4 separate regions of the Homo sapiens genome follow, and regions 1, 2 and 3 are each linked to region 4. The links are contacts of gene promoters, found by promoter capture Hi-C in blood cells and fetal thymus (Javierre and others, 2016). All regions are on one chromosome and are shown on one strand. The core of a region is centred on a gene start or on the middle of the fragment in contact, and the rest is flanking DNA. Distances in the headings are between cores, read along the strand shown.

Region 1 (3,610 bases), core at 461-2,960, 700 kb before region 4:
AATATTTTCTGTTACCCAAGTGTCATATCTCAGCCACTGAAAAGTTTTTAAAGTGGTTTATTACTTGTAGTATTTTGTTCCTTGAGGAGGTTGTGTGGATAATATTACTTGAGCTTCATTTTGGGTGATTTATATTCACCAGTTTGTCTCCTCCTGGGTGAACACTGTCTAATTCCACGAAGTCGTCAAGCCAGTTTAGGCCACTTTCCTTAGAGCTTCAAATACTTTAGCCGTTTACTCTGAGCTGCCTGCTGTGAACCTTGTTTCTTGTTTGTCATCTCTGTGAGGATGGATGCCACGTCGACCATTCTCATCATTCTTGTGTATACTTCCCTGAGGTGAGAAAGAAAAAACAACCCTGTGAATCTCTGGATTAAAAGTCAACGGGTGAAAACCCATGTGCGAGGCTGGGTGCGGTGGCTCACGCCTGTAATCCCAGCACTTTGGGAGGCCGAGGTGGGCGGATCCCAAGGTCAGGAGTTCGAGACCAGCCTGGCCAACATGGTGAAACCCCGTCTCTACTAAAAATACAAAAATTAGCTGGGCTTGGTGGCGCGTGCCTGTAATCCCAGCTACTCAGGAGGCTGAGGCAGGAGAATCGCTTGAACCTGGGAGGTGGAGGCGAGATCGCGCCGCTGCACTCCAGCCTGGGCGACAAGCGAGAGACTCTGTCTCAAAAAAAACAAACAAACAAAAAAGAAAGCCCATGTGCATGTGGGCATGAGCTCTCCCTTCTTACAGTAAATCCACTCTTAGAAAAAAGAAATGTGTTCCTCTCATTCAAAAGTTGAGGCTGAATGCAGTCGTTCATGCCTATAACCCCAGCCCTTTGGAAGGCCGAGGTGGGAGGATTGCTTGAGCCCAGGAGTTTGAGACCAGCCTGGGCAACATAGTGAAACTCCATCTCTACAAAAAATAAACAAAATTAGCTGGGCATGGTTGCCTGCAGCTACTCAGGAGGCTGAGGTGGGAGGATTGCTTGAGCCCAGGAAGTTGAGGCTGCAGGTGAATCGAGATGGCACCACTACACTCCAGCCTGGGCAACAGAGCGAGACCCTGTAACAAAACAAAGCAAAAAAATTGCCTGGAGAGCTGAACTTTAGGGTCTCACAATAAACATATTCCTATTGTAGAGTTTTAAAATAATTTTAAGGCAAGTAATAATGTATGAACACCATGTCCTTAACTTTTTATTCAGCACTGTAAATACGTTTTATGATCCAAAATGGTTGAATAGTTTCAGTTTTCAAAATTGAACATGCCCTTAACAACACATTCTATTGTGTCTCAGTGTTCTGGTGTCTATGATTGGGCCTTTTCTATATTTGTAAACAATCATTCAGTACAAACGCAGCATCTTAACGCATGACAAGGAAGAACAGATGAGGGTTTTCACCTCGAGATGACTTTCAGAGTAGCCTTATACTTTTGCCTTGACATGAAAATAGTACTAGCCATGAACATAGGTCTCAGGTGGCCAAAATCCACAGCTAGAAGGTTAGACTTGAGAAGACCCACAGAGAGAGGCTTCGCTGATGTGGCCGGGATGGCTTAGGTTCTGCAGGCTGCTTACGGCAGATTTCCATTTCTGCTCTTGAGCTATGAATCCAGTTGGATGAGCTGGTTCAGACTTTTAGTATTTCAGCAGAGAAGAAGCATTCAGGGTTTTATTTATTGTAATGATTTGATGGTGGAAAACAGCTTTGACTTAAGCAACTTAACATTGCTCTTTTTCTTTGAGTAGTGGTTTAATGTTTATTCTGTGGTTAGCTATTAACCTTATTCTGTGGTTAGCTATTTAAGCAGAAGTCATAATGTACCCAGAGGTTCATTTTAAGTTTTATTCAATGTGCCCAGAAGATGAAAAACTACATGTTTTGATGATAGGTTTGATATGCTCACACAATTCTTAATTGGTTTTATATTGGAAGATACATGTTCAGATTTGTCCTTTTATAACTTTACATTTGGCTTTTTATGCCACGTCCCGTGTTCTTTCCTTGAGGACTGGCTTGTAGAGTTGATTCTCTAATTTGTGATATGGGCATATTAAATTCCTTGATTGAGAAAGCCCTTAGCCAGCCTGGGTTGGTGCTATGCCTGGTTCTTCCTGGGGCCCGTACCACCTCCTACCCAATCTTAACAGGTTTCATCATCCCAAACAAGACAAGACAAAGCCATGTGGCCTCAGGGATACTGTAGAAATGAAAGAATAGGGCTATGACCACCAACGGGATGAAAGATCTTAGCAGTGGAGACTGGGGAAAAGAAACACCAGCTTGGCGAAGTGGCAGGTTTTGGCTAAAGATGTGGCTAGATTTGGCAGGGGAACAAGTGCCTGAGGATCTCTTCTCTTTGGGGCTTTCAAGGTTTCAGGAAATCAGATTGCCATATCACATAGCCAATCTTATTTCCCAAGACTCTTTTTTGGCCCCTGTCCTAAATGTCCTGTAAACACACATGTCTGATTCCTATGTCACTTCTGATGCAGATTGTGAAATCAAGTCTTTACTATTAACAGCTTTTTATTGCTTGCTGTCTTCTTTGTGTTTTAGCTCTTCTTCTCTGCTGAAATGTGAGCTTTTTGAAGTAGGAGGGAGATTTTGAGTTTCTTTTTTATCTTATAAAATATCGAGTTCAGTGATGGACATATATAAACTAGACATTAATTATAAGTTGATTATTAAAATAATCACATCCTTCTTTGTGGGCTAAGCCGTTGACACGGTAGTCTAATTTCAGCTATCATGCCACTGAGTTCTTATGTGATGCCATTAAAAATGCCCACATTAAAAAAATGACTATAATCTGAATTGTATAAAGAAGGTAATGTGATACCCTACCTCGTTTTAACCTGATTGTCTCTCTTAGCTGAGAGAGCCGGACAGACTCCATTTTTGTTTCTTCACTTGCAGCTCCCCTCCCTTAAAGGCATAAGTAGTGCAAGCTGACTCCGAGCACATCCAGGAATGCGCTTACTGATGAGATATCGAGGCAAGCTAAATCAGCAGTTCCTGAGGACGCGCTTGGGGGATGGCACCCAAAGCCCCTGCATTATCTCTTTGTGATAGTTTGAGCCCCTGCACCTGGAACTGTTTACTTTTCTGTAACTGTTTCTGTAACCAATTAATCTTTCTTAATTGGTTTGCCTGTTCTGCTTCTGTAAAAATTGCTTCAGCTAAACTCCCTCTCCCCTATTTAGACCACGATATAAAAAGAAATCTAGCCCCTTCTTCGGGGCCGAGAGAATTTTGAGCTCTAGCCGTCTTGTTCGCCGGCAATAAAAGGACTCCTGAATTAGTCTCAGAGTGTGTCATTTCTCTATAACTCGCTCAGTTACAACAGTAAGATATAAAGAATGAACTGACATTAGTAATATAGTCATGCAGCTAGATCATACTTGATAGCTTCCTTCCTAGGTAAAATACTTTTTAAAAAAATAAGTAATAATTAACTTGCAAAAGTAAATTTATTGAAGCATAGAAACAATTAAAGCAAAGTTGTTAATTCAGCTATTTCAAGAGCATTCTAATGAGGAAATAAGAAGATGCAGAAAAGTTGGCTAGTCATCCATTTCTGGACTGAAGCTTTTCCTGAAATTATCCAGAAA
Region 2 (3,317 bases), core at 726-3,225, 660 kb before region 4:
AAATTTTTATGTTAGATTTAAGGCAGTACCCATTTGTAATTTTGTCTTGCATTTCTGGGTCTAGAAACTTAATTGTGGCAATAGATTGAAAATACTACTTTCTGATATGTTTGAAACATGCCTATTTGCATTGCTTGAATTTCCCACTTTTGCTTTAATCACCTGGAAAATGGTTTCAGTGAATGTAAGTTTTTCTTAAGCTTGCCCTGATTCAATTATTTCTCACACAAAAACTTCATCCCTCTTCTATAGTCAAAGATTCCGAACACTGTTAGATCCCTCTGAGCCTGAGTGGAGATTTAGGTACTCTCAGGGGTAATTGTCTTTATTTTCTGCTGAGGTGACTTCTGTAGAAAGATCTCAAGTCTTTTCTGCAATTAGGCTTTGCATACATGCATGTGCCGAAGATTGGCAGGAACTCAGCAGATGCTAAATATTAAAGACGGTCTCTAACAGAGAACTCTTTTTTTTTTGAGATGGAGTCTTGCTCTGTCACCCAGGCTGGAGTACGGTGGCGCAATCTTGGCTCACTGCAGCCTCCGCCTCCTGGGTTCAAGCGATTCTCCTGCCTCAGTCTCCCCAGTAGCTGGGATTATAGGTGCCCACCACAAGGCCCAGCTAATTTTTGTATTTTCAGTAGAGACGGGGTTTCACTGTGTTGGCCAGGCTGGTCTTGAACTCCTGACCTCGTGATCTGCCCTCCTCGGCCTCCCAAAGTGGTGGGATTACCGGCATGAGCCACTGTGTGCAGCTTTTTTTTTTTTTTTTTTTTTTTTTTTGACTGGGTCCTGCTCTGTTACCCAGGCTGGAGTGCAGTGGCATGATCTCGGCTCACTGCAACCTCTGTCTCCTGGGTTCAGCCATTTCTCCTGCCTCAGCCTCCTGAGTAGCTGGGATTACAGGTGCCTGCCACTGCGCCAACTAATTTTTGTATTTTTAGTGGAGATGGGTTTTCACTATGCTTGCCAGGCTGGTCTCGAACTCCTGACTTCAGGTGATCTGCCTGCCTCAGCCTCCCAAAGTGCTGGAATTACAGGCATGAGCCACCATGCCCAGCCCAAGAGAACTCATTTTAAGGAAGGATGGACTCCATTATGAGCTGTATGTGACGACAGAGCCTAGATGTCCAAGGGTATGGAGGGCTTGAGTGTGGGGTGCTCATGCATGCTGGCAGTTGGGGGTAGGACTTGTAGGGGATGAATGTGCTGAAGTGAAACTCCGTACTATCTTGGGGCTCTGCACAGGAGACCTCTTCTGCAGGAAAGGGTTAACTCAGCAGGCTTGGGGTGTTTAGATCTTGCACATACCAAAGAAAGGCGTAGCCCTTACCCAGCTCTTGGGGAAAAAGCTCTCAGCTTTGGAATATTCTGCCTGATAGGAGTGTCTTTGTATACCTGGGGCTTTAGGCCACGGCAGAGAGTTTATGCTAACAGTGTGACTTATAGTGGCGTTCTTGGGCTACGCTGTATCAGTTTGACTTCTGGAGGGGCTGCAGACTGAGTAACTGAGGTGAACCATGTGGGCGTCCCATACCTAAGTGACTGACCCCCAATAAAAACTCTGGACACCAAGGTTTGGGCAAGCTTCTCTGGTTGACATTACTATGTATGCATTGTCACACATCATTTCTGGGAGAATTAAGTGCTGTTTTTTGTGACTCCATGTGAAAGAACAATTGGAAGCTTATGCCTCGTCTCTCCTGGACATGGCCCTATGTGCCTTTTGCCTTTGCTGATTTTAATGTGTATCCTTTTACTGTAATAAACCATAACCATGAGTATAACATTTTTCTGAGATCTGTGAGTCCTTCTAGTGAACCATTGAAATTGAGGATGGTCTTGGGGGCCCCAACATACCCCTATAGAATGGAGCTCAGAAAAAGTAGAAGGGTGTTTCTTTTCTCCCTTTTTGGATAGAAACTTCCAAGTAATTGTAGCATATCATGAGACTTGAGAGTATCAGTGGCCTAGTGCAGAGCATTAAATTATAGTGGAAAAGACTGGTAGCCAGAGGTTTTGTATGTAGTTTTTTATAGGTGGCAACTAAATAACTAGAAAAATTAAATTAGTGCATCAATGTTAAGAAGACTTCATGGATCCCTGTAAACTGGTGGAGAGTGAGGACTTCTGGTTATGTTTCAGTTACTAAATCCTCTAGGTAATTTACAAATTATAGCCATGCTCTCTTAGGTATATAAATATACCTCTTTCCATATTAAGCAGAATGCCCTCAAGAACCAATGTGGTTACATTTTTCTTCCCTTTTTGGAAAGCTTTCAATTACTTCCTACCTTTGACACTAGTTCAGGCATGTTAACCACCTTGCCACATAGAACCTCCCATCTGAGCAGGAAGGTTTAGGCTGCAATGAGTGCCGTGTTCCTGCAGGTATAAGTATCACAGAGGACAGGATTAGGAACAGTGCTCTCTGTATGTTCTTTGTAGACTTGCCATTTTGGCAACACAGTCATTGGAACTAGGTCATTTTCTCCTGAATATTTTTGTTTTAATTGGCTAATTTATTCAACTCATTGTCTGAGTCTTATGGTAAAGTAGGGAGAATTGTCATTCACCTTTAAGAGGATTGATAAGGCTGGGCGTGGTGGCTCATGCCTGTCCCAGCACTTTGGGAGGTTAAGGAGGGAGGATTGCTTGAGCCCAGAGATTTGAGACTAGACAAGGCAACATAGGGAGACCCCATCTCTACAAAAATAAATAAATAAGTAAGAGAATTGATAAGATGAAATCTCTCATTCTTCTTACTAGAAATGCCTCTGAATCAACCACTTCTCATGGGGCATTAGTTTCCTCAAGGGGAAATGACACGGACTAGTCTCTAAGCTCTCTTTTATCTTTAAACTTCTCTGATAACATACAATTAATTTTTAAATTTTTATTTCCTTTTCACCGTAGTAGCTACATTGATTGAGGGTTTAATATGAACCAGACACTCTCCAAAGCGCATAGATTAGATATTTAATCATCACACCAACTCTCTGAATAGGTGTTAATATTATTATCACCATTTTACAGGTGAGGAAATTGAGAGACAAGGTAATCAGATAACTTGCCCAAGAAAACACAGCTAGAAAGGGGTAGAAATAGTTTTAAATCCAGAAAATTCGAGGCTTGTTCCCTTAACCACTCTTCAGTGTTGCCTTCTCTGACAAGTAAGGGACTACATTTTCTTTAGCTTGATATATTCCTTTGATGCATTAATAAAATGAATTAGAGGAAAAGGTCCAAGCCATGGTGCTCTGACCTGCTCACTGAGGCTGGAACCACTCAGCTGTAGTCTGAATCCTCATAGGACTACCG
Region 3 (3,378 bases), core at 446-2,945, 640 kb before region 4:
ATCGCACCATTGCACTTCAGCCTGGACGGCAGAGCGAGACTCCGTCTCAAAAAAAAAAAAAAAAAAAAAAAAAAAAAAAAAAAAAAAAGACAGCTCAGCCCTCATGTCTGTCTGACAATGTGTCTTCAGCACCAACTTTTTATATGAGAGGTTATGTACATTATCTCCTGTCAGGTGCACAGTGTCTGCGGAGGGATAGCAAAATGTAGACGACCAGCTCTTACCTCTTTATGGTTCTTTTTGAGGTAAGTCATCTCCTCACTCAGGGTTTCATACTGAATCTCCAGATCTGTTCTGCACAGGGTTATTTCATCCAAAACTCTTCGTAACCCATTGACATCAGCCTCTACACTCTGGTGAAGAGCCAGCTCATTTTCATACCTTAAAGAGTGTTAATGATTTCCTAATTTGTCACATGGTTGGAGACATAGTCACTAGTCACTGATCAATGACAAATGCTAGCATTCTGGAATTTTGAAGATTTGGCCACAAGAGGCATTTTCAAAGCTTGTTGTATAATAATTATTGTTTCTACTTTGCAGTATTTGACAGAAAAAGAACTAGGGTATTGGGCGCTAGTTTTAATAGCAGTTCATGCTTTGTATTTAATAGTCAAAGCATAAAAAAGTAATAACATCCTGTTTATGTGAAATTCAAGTGTTTTATAATTTTGGAATAAGAGTTGCTAAATTTGATGTAATGCGTTGCATGAATTGCCATGAATTCATTTCACTCTGGCAGTCTACTTACTTGAGTCTGAAATCATCAGCTGTAAGCCTGGCATTATCGATCTGCAGAACAGCATTAGCATTGCTGGTGGTGGATGCGATGATCTAGAAATGGGAATTTGACTTTTATCATGAAGTAAACCAACTGAATCTACTTAATGCTTATTTCTAATGCTAAATTGGAATTCTCTTTAAGAAATCACAAGTAGGAGGGCATGGTGGCAGGCACCTGTAATCCCAGCTACTTGGGAGGCTGAGGCAGGAGAATCTCTTGAACCCAGGAGGTGGAGGTTGCAGTGAGCCAAGATCCCACGGTTGCACTCCAGCCTGGGCAACAAGAGCAAAACTCCTTCTCAAAAAAAAAAAAAAAAAAAAATCACAAGTAGGAATGATAAATGTTTTTAGAATTTAATAAAGAAAGGAAAACAAAATTTAGAAATAAAGGTACATGAAAATGATTGTGCAGTATGATTTCTTACCTGATTTTTAAGGTCATCAATTATTGGGAAATATCTGCTATAGTCATGATCAAGACCACGGCAAGAGCCAGGCCCAAATTTCTCATACCAGCCCTTGATCTTCTGCTCCAGGTCAGCGTTGGCCTCCTCCAGAGCATGCACACTGTCCAGGTAGGATGCCAGGCGGTCATTGAGGTTCTGCATGGTCACCTTCTCATTGCCAGAAAGGAGCCCCCGCTCATTCACAGTGAAGCCAGCACAGGGATTACCTCCCCCTGTGTTTCCTCCCGATGAGCTGCCTCCGAAGGCACTAGAGAAGCCACTTCCAATCCCTGAAATGCCACAAGAATTTCCAGTACCAAAGCTGGTTCCCCCACCATAGAGTCTGAGTGATCCAGTGGTGGGACGAGGACAGGACCTCCTGGATGCACTGGAAAGTCGAAGAGACATGGTATCAGGGCAAACGCGTTGCAGAGCTGTATTTGTGAAAGCCAGAATGGAGTGCCTTCTTGTCTAAAAGGTTTGGTTTGCCTTTTTATAGGCAAGTCCCAAGTGTGTTCTGAATGAAATTCTGCCTACACAGAGTAAAACATGGCTTGCCAGTCTCAGCAAGTTGGCATAATTGGGTGATTTTTTCTAATTAGTAACTCACTTTGCTGGGCTCATTCCTGTAGGAGGGCAGTTGCCCTCAGGTTGGTGGTTATCTGAGAAATGGGTCTGGGTGGAGCAATGTCAGGTTCATTATTACGTTTTTAAATGCTGAGTGAGTCATTCTTCACTTCCATCCTTGGAAGTAAACCTCATCAGCTCATTACAGGATAGAAATTTAGCATCATGGTTTTGGGCTATTATGCCAAGGCAGATTGTGATGTTTCTGAGGCTTTTTCTGCTTTTATTTTCACAAGTTTTTCCACATAAGTAGAGAATAGAACTGTAATCATTTCCCCAACCTGGTTCTTCAACCAATAGGTTTTTGTTTTTATTTTTAAATTCCTCTTGCCACTCTTTCCCATGGGAAGTTAACTTCCATTCTGGCTGACATGAGCATCATATTCTGTTGACACTTATGACTGAGGAGAGTTGTCTTACCTTATCCATTTTGGTAATTAGGAGCACACCCCTAATTGGTGTTATGTTTTGTGGGAGTTTGGAAAGACATTAACTTATTTCCTGACCCTGCAAAATCTGAAGCAAACCTGGTAGGAACTATTTTTTCTGTCTTAATTTATTGTGGTTTAGCTCAGATGAAAGTCATCAGTAAGGTATTTAGTCGGTGGGAATTCACATATATTTACTGAAAACTCTACCTATTATGGAAATATAAAAAATTGACAAATAAGGCCAGGCACAGTGGCTTACGCCTGTAATCCTAGCACTTTGGGAGGCTGAGGCAGGTGGATCACTTGAGGTCAGGCATTTGAGACCAGCCTCACCAACATGGTGAAACCCCATCTCTACTAAAAATACAAAAATTAGCCAGGCATCATGGCGAGGTGCCTGTAATCCCAGCTACTCGGGAGGCTGAGGCAAGAGAATCAATTGAACCTGGGAGGCAGAGGTTACAGTGAGCTAAGATTGTGTCACTGCACTCCAGCCAGAGTGACAGAATGAGACTCTGCCTCAAAAAAAAAAAAATGAGAAATAAAAATTGTATATATTTATGGTGCACGACATGATTTTTTGATATATGAATATATTGTGTAATGACCAAATCAAGCTAATTAACATATCTATTACCTCACATACCTATTTTGTGGTAAGAACATTTAAAATCTACTTTCTTATTGTTATTAACTATAGTCACCATATTGTACAATAGTTATCCTGAACTTATTCTTCCCACCTAAATGAAATTTTGTATTCTTTGACCAAAATTTCCCTAGTGCACTTCCCTGATGATTAGTGATGTTGAGCACCTTTTCATAAACCTATTGGCTATTTGTATGTCTTTTGAGAAATGTCTTTTTTTTTTTTGTTTGAGACGGAGCCTCACTCTGTCGCCAAGGCTGGAGTGCAGTGGTGCGATCTGGGCCCACTGCAAGCTCCGCCTCCTGGGTTCAAGCCATTCTCCTGCCTCAGCCTCCTGAGTAGCTGGGACTACAGGCATCCGCCACCACACCCGGCTAATTTCTTTTTGTATTTTTAGTAGAGATGGGGTTTCACTGTGTTAGCCAGGATGGTCTCGATCTCCT
Region 4 (3,576 bases), core at 1,028-3,527:
GCTCTGAGCTGGATACCACCTGCTTGTTCAGCTCCTCGGTCTGAAACACCCAAGGGGAGAAAGGATCAGACCCTGCCTCCGGGGCCCTGGGGGGCCTTGGGTCCTGAGGGGCCACGTGCTTAGATGCCCACCTGCGTGGTGAACCATTGCTCCACTTCCCTGCGGTTGGTTTCCACCAGGGCCTCATACTGACTCCTGGTCTCGTTCAGCACCCGATTCAGGTCCACAGTGGGAGCAGCATCCACCTCCACATTGAGGCGGTCTCCAAGCTGGCAGCGCAGGGTATTGACCTCCTATGGATGCAGAAAATACAAGAGTTACTATGCTCAGCAAAGAATGAACTCTAAGGAATGGCATTGCTTGTTGAAACCCTGTTAGTCTATTTTCTCGGAAAAGAAACTTTGAGTGGAGCAGTTTGTGACAGCTCAAGGCACTCCATGTGGCATAGCCCCCTCCCCACCATCTGCTGTGCCATGGCACTTGGCTTCAGAAAAAAATCCCAAAAGTTTGCTTGGATGCCACTGAAGGATGAACTAATTGATATTCAACTTTCCCAGTTTACAATTGGCTGTGAGGACCTCAGAATGCCAAAAAAAATAGGCTGTGCAATTTCAGACCATATATCAAAAAACTCTTGCTGTCAAGTAAGAGGTAAGAGCATGTCATGGCCCCTCCCAAGAGAGAGGAAGAATCTCACAAACACTCTTCACCAATACTTTGAAAGAGTAGAGACTCACATTTATAAGGTTTGATATTTTTTTTCTTGGCCTTTGCCAAAAAAAAAAAAAAAAGACTTTACAAAGCAATAACACTGCAATGCTAGGACTCATTCTACAACTATTGATCAACTGCAAGCACATGGAGCTGCTCCGGGCAACTCAAATAATGTGCTAGTTTAAAGTGAAAGATGTTTCCTGTCTGGGAACATGAACAGGTCTTATCTCTCTCCAATTTTTCTCTTACCGTGATGTTTTCAAAGGAAACCCTCAGTCTTGTACTCATACTCTGCATTCTGCTGCCCCAAATCACTAAAGCAACCCTGAGCCAGAGGCTGAGACAGGTTTGTGCATTTCTCATTTCTAGTCTCACCTGCTCATGGTTGCTCTTGAGGCAGAGCAGCTCCTCCTTCAGGGACTCCACCTGGGCCTCCAGGTCGGACTTGCACAGGGTCAGCTCATCCAGGATCCTGCGCAGACCGTTGATGTCCGACTCCACCAGCTGCCGCAGGGACAGCTCGGTCTGGTACCTGCGCAAGGACAGGGTCAGAGTACTACCTGGTAGATCTTCAAGACTCACAGGAATGATTTTTGATAACCTCATGTGCCTTATCTTTCCACTTTCTGTAATGAATAGGCCCAGGAGACAGAGGTTTCTGGAGGCTCCATCAATACCCAATATTCATCCCAAAACAAACAGATTGATGTGAGTCCTCATCCATTTTTGCATTTCTTTGCTTGGTTCTCCCCAGTCCTCTGCAGAATCCTTCACAACAAGTGGGTAGATCTGTTTTCAGATGGAAATCCCTTTTCTTTAAAGATTAAACAGAAGCAATTGACACTAGTGCAAATTCCGAACAACTCACTTGGTTCTGAAATCATCCGCAGCCAGCTTGGCGTTGTCGATCTGCACCACAAGCCTGGCATTCTCAGACTTGGTACACAGGATCTGGGGAGTGAGAGGTGGCTTAGTGAGGACTGAAAATAAATATGAAATCATCAACTTTTTAAAAATGACTTAAGCCATTTTGAAATAAAAGAGGAAGCAAGAATTATGACAGCACAGAAGCAAGAAACACACTTCTCTATCACAGACAGAATCACAGCAAACTCTCTTGCTTGGAGATGACAGCAATGCCGCTCACCTTCTGCTGGAGCTCCTCAATGGTCTTAAAATAGGACTGGTAACTGGGGCACAGCAAGGGCTCCTGCTGCTGAGACCGCTCCCGGATGAGGTTCTCCAGCTCCGCGTTGTCCCGCTCCAGCTGACGCACTTTCTCCAGGTAGCTGGCCAGGCGGTCGTTCAGGAACTGCATAGTCTCCTTCTCGCTACCATTGAAGGAGCCCTCGCAGAACCAGTTGCAGTTGCTCACATTGGCGGGGATGTTGCAGGCCCCGGGCAGGGTGCAGCTGTGGCAGCTGGGGGGCACGCAGGGCCGGGAGGAGCAGCTGGTGCGGCAGCTCAGGCTGGGCAGGCAGAAGTTGTAGGGCATAGTGCTGGGAGGGAGGGAGGGAGTGCCTGGCTGAAGACAGAGTCTAAATTCTCCAAGCCACAGAGCTGTGGGTCTCCTTCCTCTAGGGAGCATTTATATCCCACTGCAGAGGGTGTGGACACAGTATGTAATGTCTTTTTTCTTTTTATTTCTTCACTTCTTTTCAAACGCCCTTTCCTTCAGTCTGTTATTTGCCTTCCTCTGAAGAGTCCCTTCTCCCATAAAATTCTTTACTTGGGCTTCTTGCTAAGTCAGGACTCCTCCGCAGACAGTCCACCCATGAAATCAGAGTTCTGTGGTAGGCCTTCAAAGAGGCTACACAGTCCAGCCCAAGTATCTGCCCTCATTAATTGAGGTGTTGATCCATCCGATGACATTCTTTTGTGTCACATAATTCTGCAGGCCCATAAACATACTCATGTCCTGGTCCACCTGCCGTTTCTAGGGAGAAACACGGATTGATTTGAGGAAGAAGTTGCATTAAGAGGCCACAGTGGACTGTCTTTCCCTCTGCATTTAGAGAAGAATCTTCAAATGATGGAGCATTCTGTGCCTTGGAAGCCTTAAGGTGGATGATTAGAATCAATGGAGGACACGACTGAAAAGATTAGACAGCGATTTGTGTTTTACGGGTCCGTGTAATACTTCCCCCCCACCACCACATATTACTTAAGAAAATTGTAGAGGAGAGAATTTTAAAGGTAGAGGCTTTGATAACTAGTTGGAGAACAAGAAGTTTCTGGGGTAAGAGATCGTTTTGAAAGAGGCTGAAAAGTGCAAACCGAGAGAGCCATAAAAAACACATTTAAGGCTGGGCACAATGGCTCACGCCTGTAATCTCAATACTTTGGGAGGCCGAGGCCGGCGGATCACGAGGTCTAGAGATAGAGACCATCCTGGCCAACATAGTGAAACCCATCTCTACTAAAAATACAAAAAAATTAGCTGGGCATGGTGGCACCCACCTGTAGTCCCAGCTACTCGGGAAGCTGAGGCAGGAGAATCACTTGAACCTGGGAGGTGAAGGTTGCAGTAAGCCGAGATGGTGCCACTGCACTCCAGCCTGGTGACAGAGCAAGACTCCATCTCAAAATACAAAACAAAACAAAAAAAATGCATTTAAATAATCTAGGAAAGATATTCAGGGGCAGAGAGAAAGGAATAAGGAGGTCTTTGTCAAACATTTCCTAAGGTTATCCATAGTATCCGAACAGAGTAGATGGATATGTTAGGAAAGTCAGGAGATAGCCCAAAGGGGCCTCCACGGCCTGAAATCACTTGTAGTTGATCTTTAAACTTCATATGAATTGACCCTATATTCCATAATATATCCATGTTGGCTTTAATCTTTATATATATATATATAT

What was found. The method cuts DNA at HindIII sites, captures the fragments that hold promoters and counts their contacts. A CHiCAGO score of 5 or more calls a contact.
Region 1: a fragment that was not itself captured here is called in contact with the fragment with the promoter of KRT31 in region 4 in 2 of 17 cell types (M2 macrophages and erythroblasts); the score reaches 7.2 in M2 macrophages.
Region 2: a contact is called between a fragment that was not itself captured here and the fragment with the promoter of KRT31 in region 4, in 1 of 17 cell types (M2 macrophages). The highest score is 5.7, in M2 macrophages.
Region 3: a contact is called between the fragment with the promoter of KRT25 here and the fragment with the promoter of KRT31 in region 4, in 8 of 17 cell types (monocytes, M2 macrophages, M0 macrophages and 5 more). The highest score is 11.7, in monocytes.

Annotation. Positions count from the first base shown.
Region 1 is chr17:40,694,541-40,698,150 of GRCh38, forward strand. LOC105371775 (a long non-coding RNA gene) reads left to right here. Exons shown (of 4, transcript XR_934751.2): 4 at 2,916-3,300. It overlaps KRT24 (keratin 24), which reads right to left. Exons shown (of 8, transcript NM_019016.3): 8 at 3,451-3,610. Among named protein-coding and RNA genes, the nearest start is that of KRT24, 7.4 kb to the right of the region's middle. The HindIII fragment of the contact is 3,749 bases long and covers 1-3,585 here.
Region 2 is chr17:40,732,880-40,736,196 of GRCh38, forward strand. No RefSeq gene overlaps it. Among named protein-coding and RNA genes, the nearest start is that of KRT25, 21 kb to the right of the region's middle. The HindIII fragment of the contact is 590 bases long and covers 1,681-2,270 here.
Region 3 is chr17:40,753,636-40,757,013 of GRCh38, forward strand. KRT25 (keratin 25) reads right to left here and starts at 1,696. Exons shown (of 8, transcript NM_181534.4): 1 at 1,208-1,696; 2 at 751-833; 3 at 225-381. The coding sequence starts at 1,636. The HindIII fragment of the contact is 3,727 bases long and covers 506-3,378 here.
Region 4 is chr17:41,395,331-41,398,906 of GRCh38, forward strand. KRT31 (keratin 31) reads right to left here and starts at 2,278. Exons shown (of 7, transcript NM_002277.3): 1 at 1,862-2,278; 2 at 1,583-1,665; 3 at 1,090-1,246; 4 at 132-293; 5 at 1-40. The coding sequence starts at 2,209. The HindIII fragment of the contact is 10,261 bases long and covers 1-3,576 here.